Linked DNA regions of Homo sapiens: all the other regions are linked to region 1. Evidence: promoter capture Hi-C in 16 types of primary human blood cells and fetal thymus (Javierre and others, 2016). All regions are on one chromosome and are shown on one strand. Each heading gives the region's core, a stretch centred on a gene start or on the middle of the fragment in contact. The rest is flanking DNA. Distances are from core to core; before and after follow the strand shown. Region 1 holds the start of KRTAP20-1 (keratin associated protein 20-1). Region 2 has its middle 14 kb from the start of KRTAP22-2. Region 3 has its middle 27 kb from the start of KRTAP20-3.

Region 1 (4,030 bases), core at 1,511-4,010:
AAGATTCAAGTTGCATGGAGTCTATCATCTTCTTTGTATATTTCTTGGTCCTCTTCCCTAGGACACAAATGCCACCATCTTTGACTATGAAGATGAAGGTTACATCTTATGAATGATGAAGCAATGATTTAGAATGAGTCTGGGTCACTGAGGACTAGAAACCAGCTAGAGATGACTTAAATCCAGACTTTGATTATGTGAAAGAGAAATACATTCTTAAAATGTACACTATTTCTATCACTTGCAATAAATTCTACTCCTATCTAATACAACAATATAGAAAAAGGAATGAGAAAATTCTGCTAGGAACCAAATTTTAGACAGTGTTTCCACTTAAAAATTAAATATATCCCTGGGAACGATGGCAGCAAATATAAGAAAAGAAAAGCCATGGGCTATATTATTCTCTTTTAAAAGAATCTCGTTTATGCTATACAGATTAATTGCCCCTAGAAAGTGAATTTTAAGTAGGGTTAGTCACTTGAGTTCTTATATTTGAGATATTGAAGACTTTGTCACTTTTCTTTTAAAATTCTTGTTGGAATATGTATCTATTATTTGAACCATACTTTTTAAAACCAACACACAGAGAGTCAAAGAGCATAGTGTTATTTCCTAATTAAATAACTCCCATATTTGAGGATTTAAACCAAAATATTTCAGGCATGCTTCTGTCTCAAGTAACGTACCACCAAGAAATAATGGTGGATAGGATTAGTTTGTTTGGAGTAATGATTTTAAAACTCTTCGATCATAAAAGAACTTACTGAGGATCTTGAAAAGCCATTCTTTATGTGTTATATTTACTGATATTCATCTTTTTAAAATTAAAATTGATGATTTTAAAATATGAGTTAATCAATTTCAAAATAACAGTCATAATTTCATATTTTTAGAAACATAATTTTTTTAGAGCAAAAACTTCTTAGGAATAGTGGAATGTTTTACATGTTTGGTCAATCTCTTTAATGTCTCGCTTAATGGAAGACAGTTTCTCATATCTGATTTAGCTTTTAGTCTGTTGTGATAACATGCATATATCTGGAAAATTCCACCGTTCATTCATGAATGTATGGCAGTAAAAATGAAAAATGTATTATGAAAATAATTTTGCCCTTATCGAGACCTCAAAAGGGTCTTTGGTTCCCACATGCGTCCCTAGACCACACCTTGAGAAAATTTGGTCGAGAGCAGAGATCTTCAAACTTGTGAGATGAGAAAACCATACTGTAAATATTTTGAACCTGCATTCCCAATTTCAATTCAACCATTTATTTATAAATTTTATACATGTGTTATTGCTAATAATCATTAGCAATAACACATATACAATATGTATAATAGTAAATATATTATTTTAGGTATGTTTTGATATTTTAGAAAATTTTAAGAACTGGCAATGCATAGATTTGGAGTTCTGTTTCTAGATTCATTTTATTCTAATTACTGGAAAAGATATATTGTTTGCTGTATTCATTAAATCATGATACAAACTTTTAATCCCATTATCTAGTTGTATAACTTGTTTTTTAAATTTCCCTAATATAGTTTCCTTAATGTCAATAGTTTATTTTTACAGATTAATTGAGAAGTTTGATTTTCATACCATGTGGTAAAAATTCACTAAAACTCTTCCGTTTGGAAAAAATGTAAAACCCAATTAGAATATTCTAATAGTACACAAATACCAGTTTTATAAAGTATACAACTAGATAAAATTTAGTAATATTACAACAGAAATAATCTTGAATATTCATGAAAAGATGCTCTCTCCCAATATAGCAGCATGCCTAGAATACTTTAGGAGCTGTTGCATGAATGCAATGAAATATGAAATGAACTTCATTATCAAAATCGCCTATCATAAAGAGATTTCCTATAAAGACATCCAGGTTCCCAGACATGGCACAGCACTTCCTGTATACAGGATCTATATCAACAACATCAGGCAACTGAGAGGCTTCATAGTGATGAAGCTACCAGAAGGCAGACAACTTGGAAAACTCATGGAAGCCACAACTTAAAATGTGTATGTGTTTCTATGTGCTCTGGAGAAACAAGGACAGTCAGCAGCATGCAGCCACCAGCCTTAGGTGTGTAGCTTGTCAAGCTCAAGTAGAAATTATTTGAAGAGAAAGCAATCAACTGTGTCCCTACAGAAGCTCAGTTTTAAATAGTGTGAGAAATATACAGAAGGACAAAAAATAGGAAAATGAAATAAGATGTAGTGTCAACCCCTTGGGATAGTAATTATCCACAGGTTTCCATCTTACCATCATCCACATGCAAAGTTGACAATGAAAATAATAAACATGAAAACACACTATATTTGCAAACAGACTAAATTTATTTAAAGGACTTAAGAATCAAAGAATTGCATTTTAAAACCTATTCTTTATCATCTTGCACAACAGAACCAGAGAAAGACAGCATCTGTAGTTCTTTGATAATAGCCTAGTTTAGGTTTCTGCTGTTTTGAAGACACAGGATCAGATGAACAAGAGCAGCATGAGAATCCAGGTTTCACAAGCAGACAAATCTGGTGAGCTCTAGAATTGTTCAGTAGAAACCATATGACCAATATCTTCCATAGCAAGATGGGCAGTAGTAGCCATTTCCATAGCCTCCATAGCCACCATAACCACATCCATAGCCACGATAACCACAGCCATAGCCACAGCCAAGCCCACCATACCCATAGCCACCATAATAGTTGCTGTAGTAAATCATGGTGTCAGAAATGGATGGTTCAGGTGTAGAAGAGGATGTTCTTGAATTTGAACATCTCCATCTTCACAGGTCTTTTATACTTCCTCAGTAGTAGGTGTGGCAAATCACAGGCAATGTTGCTCTTATTATGAATTATTTTGGGTTGACCGCTAACACCGCCAAGGCAACACTCTCATAAATCTCTTATTTCATTAGGCATAGTGAAGCCTTCATAGCTAGGATTCCTCTAGTGTTGTGTCAAGATTTTCACAATCAAAGAATGTGATTTGAATGACAGATTTTTTTTAACCTGGTTTTAACATCCTTTTTTCCTGAGAGCACATACTAAAATTTCATGATGAGATTCTATGAAATAACAGAAACTATGCAAATCTCATCTGATTCAAATTGGTTTTGGCTTGTTAATTCCTTTACATTCATCTACCAGTTGCAGTTGAAGAAGTCTGTCTGCATGGCTTTGGGGAGACAGATGTGCCTAAGGGGCAAGTCTTTCGAGTATGAGATCTGTAATATTGCCCAATATTTCTTCAGAGATAGAACAGTTTATTTCACTTTAAATACATAAGTCAGGTAACATTTTTACAGGATACAACTTTACAAACGTACAAATGCACTTTATTTTACTGTTATACCAAATTCTATCTTGATTCATTATTTCCACTAAATGGCAAAACATTTATTCTTGTCCCTTTCAGGTAAACTCAACAAAATTCAATCACTTTCTGGTTGTCAGTATTAAAATACAATTGCAATAAAGACATTACCACTCCTCATTCTCTGCCTGAGGTGTGCTTCGATGTGCAGTGATATGCTGTTGGTTTTGAGGAGGACCATACCTGTTCTGCACTGACACCTTTGGATGGCATAACACATATTGCCATTTTCCACTGCCACAAAAATAAAACTCTGTTCAATCCATTACCTAGCATGAAGTGTTACATCCTTGGGTCTCTACAGCCAGAACAGTCTTTGGTTGTAGTAAGGAAATCAATGAGTCTCCACTCAGATCCACCTGGGTGAGAACCAATCATTGTATCTCCCCCTGCTTGTGCTATGTGTGTTGGGGAACTTGGTAGGACTTTCCCCTTCTCAGTAAAACCAGGATGTGACTTTCTCTGTTGTTAGATGTACATCCTCAATGCAGAGTTTCTCTTCCCTTCAGCTTCAAGGACATAATGCCCCTAAATGAGAACTTAAGCATGCCTGAGTTCTCTTATTCAATTGATCAACTCTCTACTGAAGCTTCTATCCAGAAAAACAGGGATGGGATGAAATAAGTAAAGACAGCAAAATTTATTCT
Region 2 (4,570 bases), core at 509-3,008, 39 kb after region 1:
TCCTCTCTGTCTACTATATTTTAGCTTCTTTTTTTTTCCACTGACACCTTACAGTCAGTCTATAAACATGCTCAAGTCTTTTGATATTAAAAAAGCCTGTCTCAACACCAGATCACTCCTGGCTAGCTTTCTCTAACCTTCTTTAAATCTAAGGTTTGATATAGTTTTCTCTGATGCTTCTCATTCAGTCTTCAATACACTCTAACTTGTCTCTTCCTCTCACTGTAACCCAAGGATTGTTCTCATTTAGGTCACCAATGGCCCACTAATTACTCAGTCTTTTTGATATCTCATGTTTGCCCTCCTAGTGTCATTTGGCACTAACGGCCACTTCATTCCTTGGCTTCTGTTATATGCTTTTCTTACTTTGGTTCTCTTGCATTTTTGGTGCTTCTTACTAGTCTACCTGAAAGACTGTTTTCCTGCTGTCAGCGGGAGGTCTGTCCTTGCTCTTTGGCTCCATCAATTAATGCACAAAATCTGACCTTATAAGCAGGGCATAAGACTCCTTCATGATCCAGTCTGGGTTAGTGTTTGTATTAGTCTGTTTTCACACTGCTATAAAGAACTGCCCAAGATTGGGTAATCTGTAAAGGTAAGAGCTGGCTTCTTAGTCTCAGAAGAAACTATATCCTCACCGTTCTATATAACTATATAGAAACTATATAACACAGAAACCATATAACTCACAGTTCTGCATGGCTGACGAGGCCTCAGGAAACTTATAATCATGGCAGAAGGTGAAGGGAAAGCAAGGCACATCTTACATGGCAGCAGGAAAGAGAGAGCACAGGGGAAACTGCCACTTTTAAACCATTAGATCTCATGAGAACTCCCTCACTCTCATGAAAACAGCGTGGGGGATACCGCCCCCATATCTACCTACTTCCCACCAAGTTCCTTCCTGGACTCGCGGGGATTACAACTTGAGATGAGAATTGGGTGGGGACACAGAGCCAAACCATATCAGAGTCTGGTGTCATTTTCTGCTTCTCCTTCATATACCAACAGTCATTTTATCCTGTTTTTTCTACTAAAAATTTGCTGACCATGGCATGCATTCTCAGTCCTTCTTATCTGTGGATAACTCACAACATCTATGAGAAAATCTATTCTGCCTGATGAGCTATAGCTGAGTCAACTGTGAAGTCTTCACTGGAGCACTGCATTATCTGAGAAGTGTTTCTTTGCCTGCCTCCCACAGAACCTACTTAGTCATGTCAGGCAGACCCAGATGATCTCTTCACTCATTGCCCACAGAACTCTTCCCTTACTTAATTATAAGACATAGACTTTGTTTTTTTACCATTTATTTTAGATCTATCCCAATAAGATTTATTCATTCATTCATTTACACACATGGTGTAAACTGAGCATCTATTATAAAAAGAGAAACAAGACATAATCCCTACCATGAAAGAGCTTATAGTTTAGTAAGTTAGTAGACAGGTGAGTCTACATTACAGGTAAGCGCTGTGAGAGGAAAGACCACAGGGGTGTTATGGAAACATAAAATATGGACAAGAGATAGAGGATAAGGTGACTCATTCAGGGTGCAGAGACAAATAAGGGGGGTTTTCTATGACAATGATGAAGTAGCCAGATGAAGTCAAGATGGAAGGTCATTTCAGGTGGAGAAAACTGTGTACATAAAGGCACAAATGTACAAAGCAGGAAGTATAAATCATAATTACGAATTATTGAAGCCTTTGTTCTTGCCTGATATATGTTTGTATTCTCAGCACTTAGCAGAGTCCCTGTTAACAGTGTTCTGGCTCCTGAGTTTGTTAACTCCCAAATAATGAATTAACACATCAATTACAAATTATAAATATATAGGCTGGGTGCGGTGGCTCATGCCTGTAATCCCAGCATTTTGGGAGGCTGAGGCAGGTTGCTTGCCTGCGCTCAGGAGTCTGAGACCAGCTGGGAAACATGGCAAAACCCTGTCTCTACCAAAAATACAAAAAATTGGCCGGGCACGGTGGCTCATGCATGTGGTCCCAGCTACTCAGGAGGCTGAGGTGGGAGGATCACTTGAGCCTGGGAGGCAGAGGTTGCAGTGAGCCAAGATCGCACCACTGCACTCCAACCTGGGTGACAGAGTGAGAACCCATCTCAAACAAACAAACAAACAAACAAACAAAATATATATGGATATTATATGTCAGCTAAAAATACCAATACATGAATGAATGCTTTCTTCCACAGAGTGTGCATTGTTAAGAACCAGGTCCTCCATGGTACTGCAATAATTTATATTAATTAATTTTAATCATGGTAGATTTTCAATCTCATTTAGTCATTTTAGTCACAGCACAACCAATGCTATTATCCAAAACAGTAGCTTTATTTTCCTTACATACCCTGGCTTTTGGCCTTTTCAGTCAGACTGTATGTTCGCTGCATCATCTCATGTTGAGCTTCCCTGCAGCCATAATTCGTGTTTTGTACTTCACATCCTTTTGACTGTCGTTCTTCAGCTTATTTGCAGAAGATCTGAAAAACCATGCAGTATGTCTCATGGTTTATAGCTGGTCAGCTTGTTGTAATCCCTGTTTACTCATGCCCAGTGTGGTATTCCCTTATTAGAAGGTGATTTTTAGTGTGTCTTTATAGGATAGGTTAGAAAAAAAATCTGGTATCACTCCAATTTCCATCTTTCTAAATGGTGAGTGGAGTAAATTTCAAGGCACATTGTGTTCATGTCTGCTCTAAAGAGGTGTGCTGAGAAAACATCAAATATTTTAACCCTTGATTTTTCCAAGGAAAGGACAAGTGATATGTATGGTAGTAGGCATTTTTTAAGTTAAAAGGAACAGATAAAAAATGAATTTTTATAAAGCGATGCTACCGTCACATAGCTGGGTAGGTCTGAGTTTGGACCATCACTGTTCTCCTTACTTTTCATATGACTTTTAGCCAATTACTCGACTTCTTTTTGCCTCAGTTTTTTAATTTGTAAAAGTGAGGATATATTTCTCTCTTTGGATTGTGTGATGTTTTAATGATATAAGAAATAAAACTGTACTCAACAAGTGTTAGTTCCCCAATAGTTCTGGACATTAATACAAATTTTTAATAAATTCAAAGCCAGTGGAATAGGGAGATTCATTGTACCTCACATGCCAAGTTTGCTATCATCGCTTCCATGCCAAGGGATAGATGACTTTGGACTTGCTGTATCACTAATGAACCAATATGGTAGAACTTCACTTTAGTGGGATGCACAAGAAGCTACTATATAGATTTTGTATTACATTTGTAAACATATAGTGCAAACATGCCTCTGTTGTTTCACATGTCCTTCTTCTTAAATCAAAGCACTCCTTTTCTATTTTGCCAGAATGAGCTATCTTGTCATTGAGGGCTGTTAAAGGAGATGGCAGGCTGAAAGAGCTCTATGAATAAAATCCAGCAAAGCCTTAGGATCTCTGGAGGAGAAGTTACTTGCAAGAAAGAACTGCTCTTAGTCAAATGTGTTGACATAAATAAATTAATTAGATTGAAAAGGAACCTGGGCTCTGAGCAAAATGTTAGTATCTAAAGGTATGTTTCTTTAAGAAATTAATAAATAACAGACTAGAATAAAATTATTGAGCACATATTTAACAATAATTAAATTTATCTTGGTGCAAGATATTTCCTTTTTGTGCCAATTACAAGTCACATTAAAATACTATGAAATGTTTTTATTTTTAAAGAAATTTATTTTAAAGATAATTTTAAAGAAAATTATCTTATTTTTTCTGAAAGCTTTTAAACTATCTTTTTCTAATTGTTTTTATGTAAATATGTTTGAAACTTACTGAAGTATCTAAGCTGTTTAATCACAGCTATCCAAGCACCTGTATCTTGCTTTTATCCTGGTATTAAGGCCCAAGAGCATGAGGTAATGGGCTTAACTAAACATTCTATTCTCCAGATAAAAAATGACAGTAACACATTCACAACAATAACGATTATGCTTTTGAGTGACAAAACATGGTCAGCATTACTGGAATCCTAAATATAAATTATGTGTATATCAAGATCTCATAAATGATGTTGGCCATCCAGGTCTTCGATCAATGCTTAAATGTCTGAAAAAATAAAGTCACACAGGTGGAATTCATGCCAAGTAATCAATACTTGTTAAAATATAAGCGCAGAGGAGAATCTTCTGGTTGTACAACAATTTTGGTCCTAATGCTACAAAACTGTTTGCCAAACTTAGCTTTATATGCCTTCCTTCTACCTATAATCAAATAAGTACTCCAAGCTGTAAATCACCTTGTAATCTTGGATGTTATTTACAAACTGTCTCCTTAAAACGGGGTTATCAGGATACATGTAATGCCGTGAAAACTACTAATGAATTCAAAAACTGAAATCTAAATGACCAAAACTTTAAAGGAGGGAGGTAATCTCATTGAGGGCACATGATTTAACTGTCAACATTTTACTACAGAGATTAGTTAATATTTAGTTACCCAGTATAAAAGATTTCCTTTTGTTTAAAATCATTCTGAGCCATTAATACGTTTCTTGTAAGAATTCATCTATTCATTCACACATCCATGCATTAATT
Region 3 (4,229 bases), core at 1,237-3,736, 53 kb before region 1:
CCTGAAAAACCTACTCTCAAATAAGTAAAGTTGGTTTTTATAACCCCCTAGTTGTGTTAGTTATATCATTTATGTTTTGTTATATCTGTGAGCGAGTGAATCTAAATCAGTTTCCTAATAAACTTACCTAGGTAAGCAAACCAGACATTTCGTTTCATTAACACACATCAAAAACTTTATAGTCTTTTATATTTTATGGGACCCTGTAATTCCCACAGGGATCTGTTTTCATGTCACATAAAGGAACTGCAGTGGTTGATGAAGTTTTATTGCTTCAGATTATCCAGGCTCATAGGTGGAAGGGGCTTGTCTTGTCTCAGATAAGATATTGGATTGTGGACTTTTGAGTTAATGCTGAAATGGGTTAAGACTTTGGGGGACTGTTGGGAAGGCACGATTGGTTTTGAAATGTGAGTACATGAGATTTGGGAGGGTCCAGGGTGGAATGATATGGTCTGGCTGTGCCCCCACCCAAATTTCATCTTGAATTGTAACTCCCACAATTCCCAGGTGTCATGGGAGGAACCCTGTGGGAGGTGATTGAATTATAGGTGTGGGTCTTTCCTGTGCTGTTCTTGTGATAGTGAATGAGTTTCATGAGATCTGATTGTTTTAAAAATGGGAATTTCCCTGCACAAGCTCTCTCTTTGCCTGCTGCCATACATGTAAGACATGAATTGCTCCTCCTTGCCTTCCTGCCATGATAGTGAGGCCTCCCCAGCCATGAGGAACTGTAAGTCTATTAAACCTCTTTTGTAAATTTCCCAGTCTTGGGTATGTCTTTATCAGCAACATAATAGACTAATATGTTGGCTAACTCCTGCTCATCATTGAAAAGTTAGCTTATGTGTCCTGTTTTCTAACAAATATCACAGATTCTTATTCTGGGTTTGGTGCCCATACTATCTGTTTCTGTAGTGCGCTATGATCTGCCAATGTCAGTTTGGGTGGAATTTGATATGCTCATAGAAATTGCGTCTTTTTCCCCCTCAAGTAGTTTCACGTGTGCTAAGCTCTCTGTGGCATAGTAGGACAGATTAAATGGCTCATGAAAGTAGATGCTTGAGAAGTCCAGCACATACGTACTGAATAGCCTGTTCCTGGGAAGCTCTATTACAGTGAATGGAACACTGTAATAAGGAAAGGGTACAGGTTTCTTGAGATGATATATATTAGCTGTGCCAGTAATTCAGTGACAATCATTAGATCATGTGGAAATTTCTGATTTCATCATAGTCATCATCATCATCATGAGCTGCAACTAATAATTCTTTTTCAATTACCAGTTAAAATTTATTCATTTATTTCAGTGATACTGAGTATCCAGTTATAGGACTGTACTTTTCAATTAAATAGGTCTGGTTTTTTAGAATACTGCAGAGGGATATGTATAGTTAGATAAAACAGAAAATTCTAAGAAACATATAAGACACATTATAATTTGAGTTACATTTTTCCTGGTGTATTAGTCTGTTTTCATTCTGCTGATAAAGACATACCTGAGATTGGAAAGAAAAAGAGGTTTTAATGGACTTAGAGTTCCATGTGGCTGGAGAGGCCTTGTAATCATGGTGGAATGTAAAAGGCACATCTCACATGGTGGCAGACAAGAGAAGAGAGTTGTGCAGGGAAACTCCTGTTTTTAAAACCATCAGATCTCATGAGACTCATTCACTATCACAAGAGCAACACAGGAAAGACCCGCACCCATAATTCAATCACCTCCCACCGGCTTCTTCCCATGACACGTGGGAATTGTGTGAGTTACAATTCAAGATGATATTTGGGTGAGGACAGAGCCAGACCTTATGATTCTGCCCCTGGCCCCTCCAAAATTCCATGTCTTCACATTCCAAAACCAATAATGCCTTCCCAACAGTACCCCAAAGTCTTAACTCATTTCAGCATTAACTTAAAAGTCCACATTCCAATCTCATCTGAGACAAGGCAAGTCCCTTCCACCTATGAGCCTGTAAAATCAAAAGCAAGTTAGTTAATTCCTAGACACAATGGGGGTACAGGCACTGGGTAAATATAGCCATACCAAATAGGAGAAATTGGCCAAAACAAAGGGGCTACAGGCCCCACGCAAGTCCAAAATCCAGCAAGGCAGTTAAATCTTAAAGCTCCAGGATGATCTCCATTGACTCCATGTCTCACATCCAGGTCTTGCTGATGCAAGAGGTGGGTTTCCATGGTCTTGGGCAGCACTGCCCCTGTGGCTTTGCAGGGTACAGCCTCCCTCCTGGCTGCTTCCATGGGCTGGCATTTAGTGTCTGCAGCTTTTCCAGGTACATGGTGCAAGCTGTCTGTGGATCTACCATTCTGGGGTCTGGAGGACATTGGCCCTCTTCTCACAGCTCCACTCAGTGGTGCCCCAGTAGGGACTCTGTGTGGGGGCTCTGGCCCCACATTTCCCTTTCATATTGCCTTAGCAGAGGTTCTCCATGAGTGCCCTGACCCTGCAACAAACTTCTGCCTGTACATCCAGGCATTTCCATACATGCTCAGCAATCCAGGCATAGGTTCCCAAACCTCAATTCTTGATTTCCGTGCACTGGTAGGCTTCACAGCCCCAGGAAGCTGCCAAGGCTTGAGGCTTGCTCCCTGTGAAGTCATGGCCTGAGCTCTGTATTGGCCCCTTTCAGCCATGGCTAGAGTGGCTTGGACACAGGGAACCAAGTCCCTAGGTTGCACACAGCACAGAGACACTGGGCTTGGCCCAGTAAATCACCTTTTTCTTCCTAGGCCTCTGGGCCTGTGATGGGAGGAGCTGCCGTGAAGGCCTTTGACATGCTCTGGAGATGTTTTCCCCATTGTCTTGGGGATTAACATTCAGCTCATTGCTACTTATGCAAATTTCTGCAGCCAGCTTGAATTTCTCCTTGGAAAATGGGATTTTCTTTTCTATTTCATTGTCAGGCTGCAAATTTTCCAAACTTTTATGCTCTGCTTCCCTTTTAAAACTGAATGTCTTTAAGAGCACCCAAGTCACATCTTGAATGCTTTGCTGCTTAGAAATGTCTTCTGACAGTTACCCTAAAGCATCTCTCTCAAGTTCAAAGTTCCACAGATCTCTAGGGCAGGGTCAAAATGCTGCCAGTCTCTTTGTAAAACATAAGAAGGGTCACCTCTGCTCCAATTCCCAGCAAGTTCCTTATCTCCATCTGAGACCACCCCGACCTGGATGCTATTTTCCATATCACTATCAGCATCATCTTTGTCAAAGCCATTCAACACATCTCTAGGAAGTTTCTGACTTTCCCACATTTTTCCTGTCTTCTTCTGATCCCTCCTGACTGTTCCAACCCCTGCCTGTTACCCAGTTCCAAAGTTGCTTCCACACTATCAGGTATCTTTAGCAGCACCTCACTTTACTGGTACCAATTTACTCTATTAGTTTGTTTTCACACTGCTGATAAAGACATACCTGAGACTGGGAAGAAAAATAGGTTTTAATTGTACTTACAGTTCCATGTGGCTGGGGAGACCTCACAATCATGGTGGAAGGTAAAAGGCATGTCTCACATGGCAGCAGACAAGGGAAGAGAGTTTGTGCAGGGAAACTCCCATTTTTAAAACCATCATATTTCATGGGACGCATTCACTGGTCATGAGAGCAGTGCAGGAAAGACCTGCCCCCATAATTCAATCACCTCCCACCGGCTTTTCCCCATGACATGTGGGAAATATAAAAGTTACAATTAAGATTTGGGTGGAGGCACAGGCAAATCATATACCTGGATCATTTAAAATTATTTTTTTTGTGAACTCTGATTAATAGATAATTTAATTATCTTTAGCTTATTACTTTGTGGGAAGATAAACATAGATGTATATGATCTTTACTGAGTGCTGTTATGTGCCAGCCAGTCTACTAAGCATCTTACAGGTACTAACCTATTTATTTTTCACAAAAACTCAGTGAAGATGGCATATTATCACCACTTTACCAATAAATAAATGAAAATTTAGTAAAACCAGCTATTAGGAATTATACAGATAACTAAATAGCAGAGCTAGGACTTGAAGCCAGGTCAGCCTGATTCCTAATTCCCTGGTCTCAGGCAGTTGGCCAAACTGGTATTTTTGTTTTTCATAGGCTTATAGTCATTAATTTTTCCTATCAGTAGACTTTGATGCCTTAGCACTGTTATTTTCCAAGACAGATACAGTGTGTGCTTCTTTTTCCTGATGTCTTAAGGTTTTTACTTATTCTTGGTCAATAG

The links. Contacts are between HindIII fragments. The CHiCAGO score rates a contact against its expected background, and 5 or more counts as called.
Region 2: a fragment that was not itself captured here is called in contact with the fragment with the promoter of KRTAP20-1 in region 1 in 1 of 17 cell types (neutrophils); the score reaches 5.5 in neutrophils.
Region 3: a fragment that was not itself captured here is called in contact with the fragment with the promoter of KRTAP20-1 in region 1 in 1 of 17 cell types (neutrophils); the score reaches 5.2 in neutrophils.

Annotation. Positions count from the first base shown.
Region 1 is chr21:30,615,155-30,619,184 of GRCh38, reverse strand. It overlaps KRTAP20-1 (keratin associated protein 20-1), which reads right to left and starts at 2,760. Exons shown (of 1, transcript NM_181615.2): 1 at 2,486-2,760. The coding sequence starts at 2,730. The coding sequence ends at 2,560. The HindIII fragment of the contact is 4,063 bases long and covers 1-3,974 here.
Region 2 is chr21:30,574,561-30,579,130 of GRCh38, reverse strand. No RefSeq gene overlaps it. Among named protein-coding and RNA genes, the nearest start is that of KRTAP22-2, 14 kb to the left of the region's middle. The HindIII fragment of the contact is 4,000 bases long and covers 1-3,758 here.
Region 3 is chr21:30,667,517-30,671,745 of GRCh38, reverse strand. No RefSeq gene overlaps it. Among named protein-coding and RNA genes, the nearest start is that of KRTAP20-3, 27 kb to the right of the region's middle. The HindIII fragment of the contact is 8,660 bases long and covers 1-4,229 here.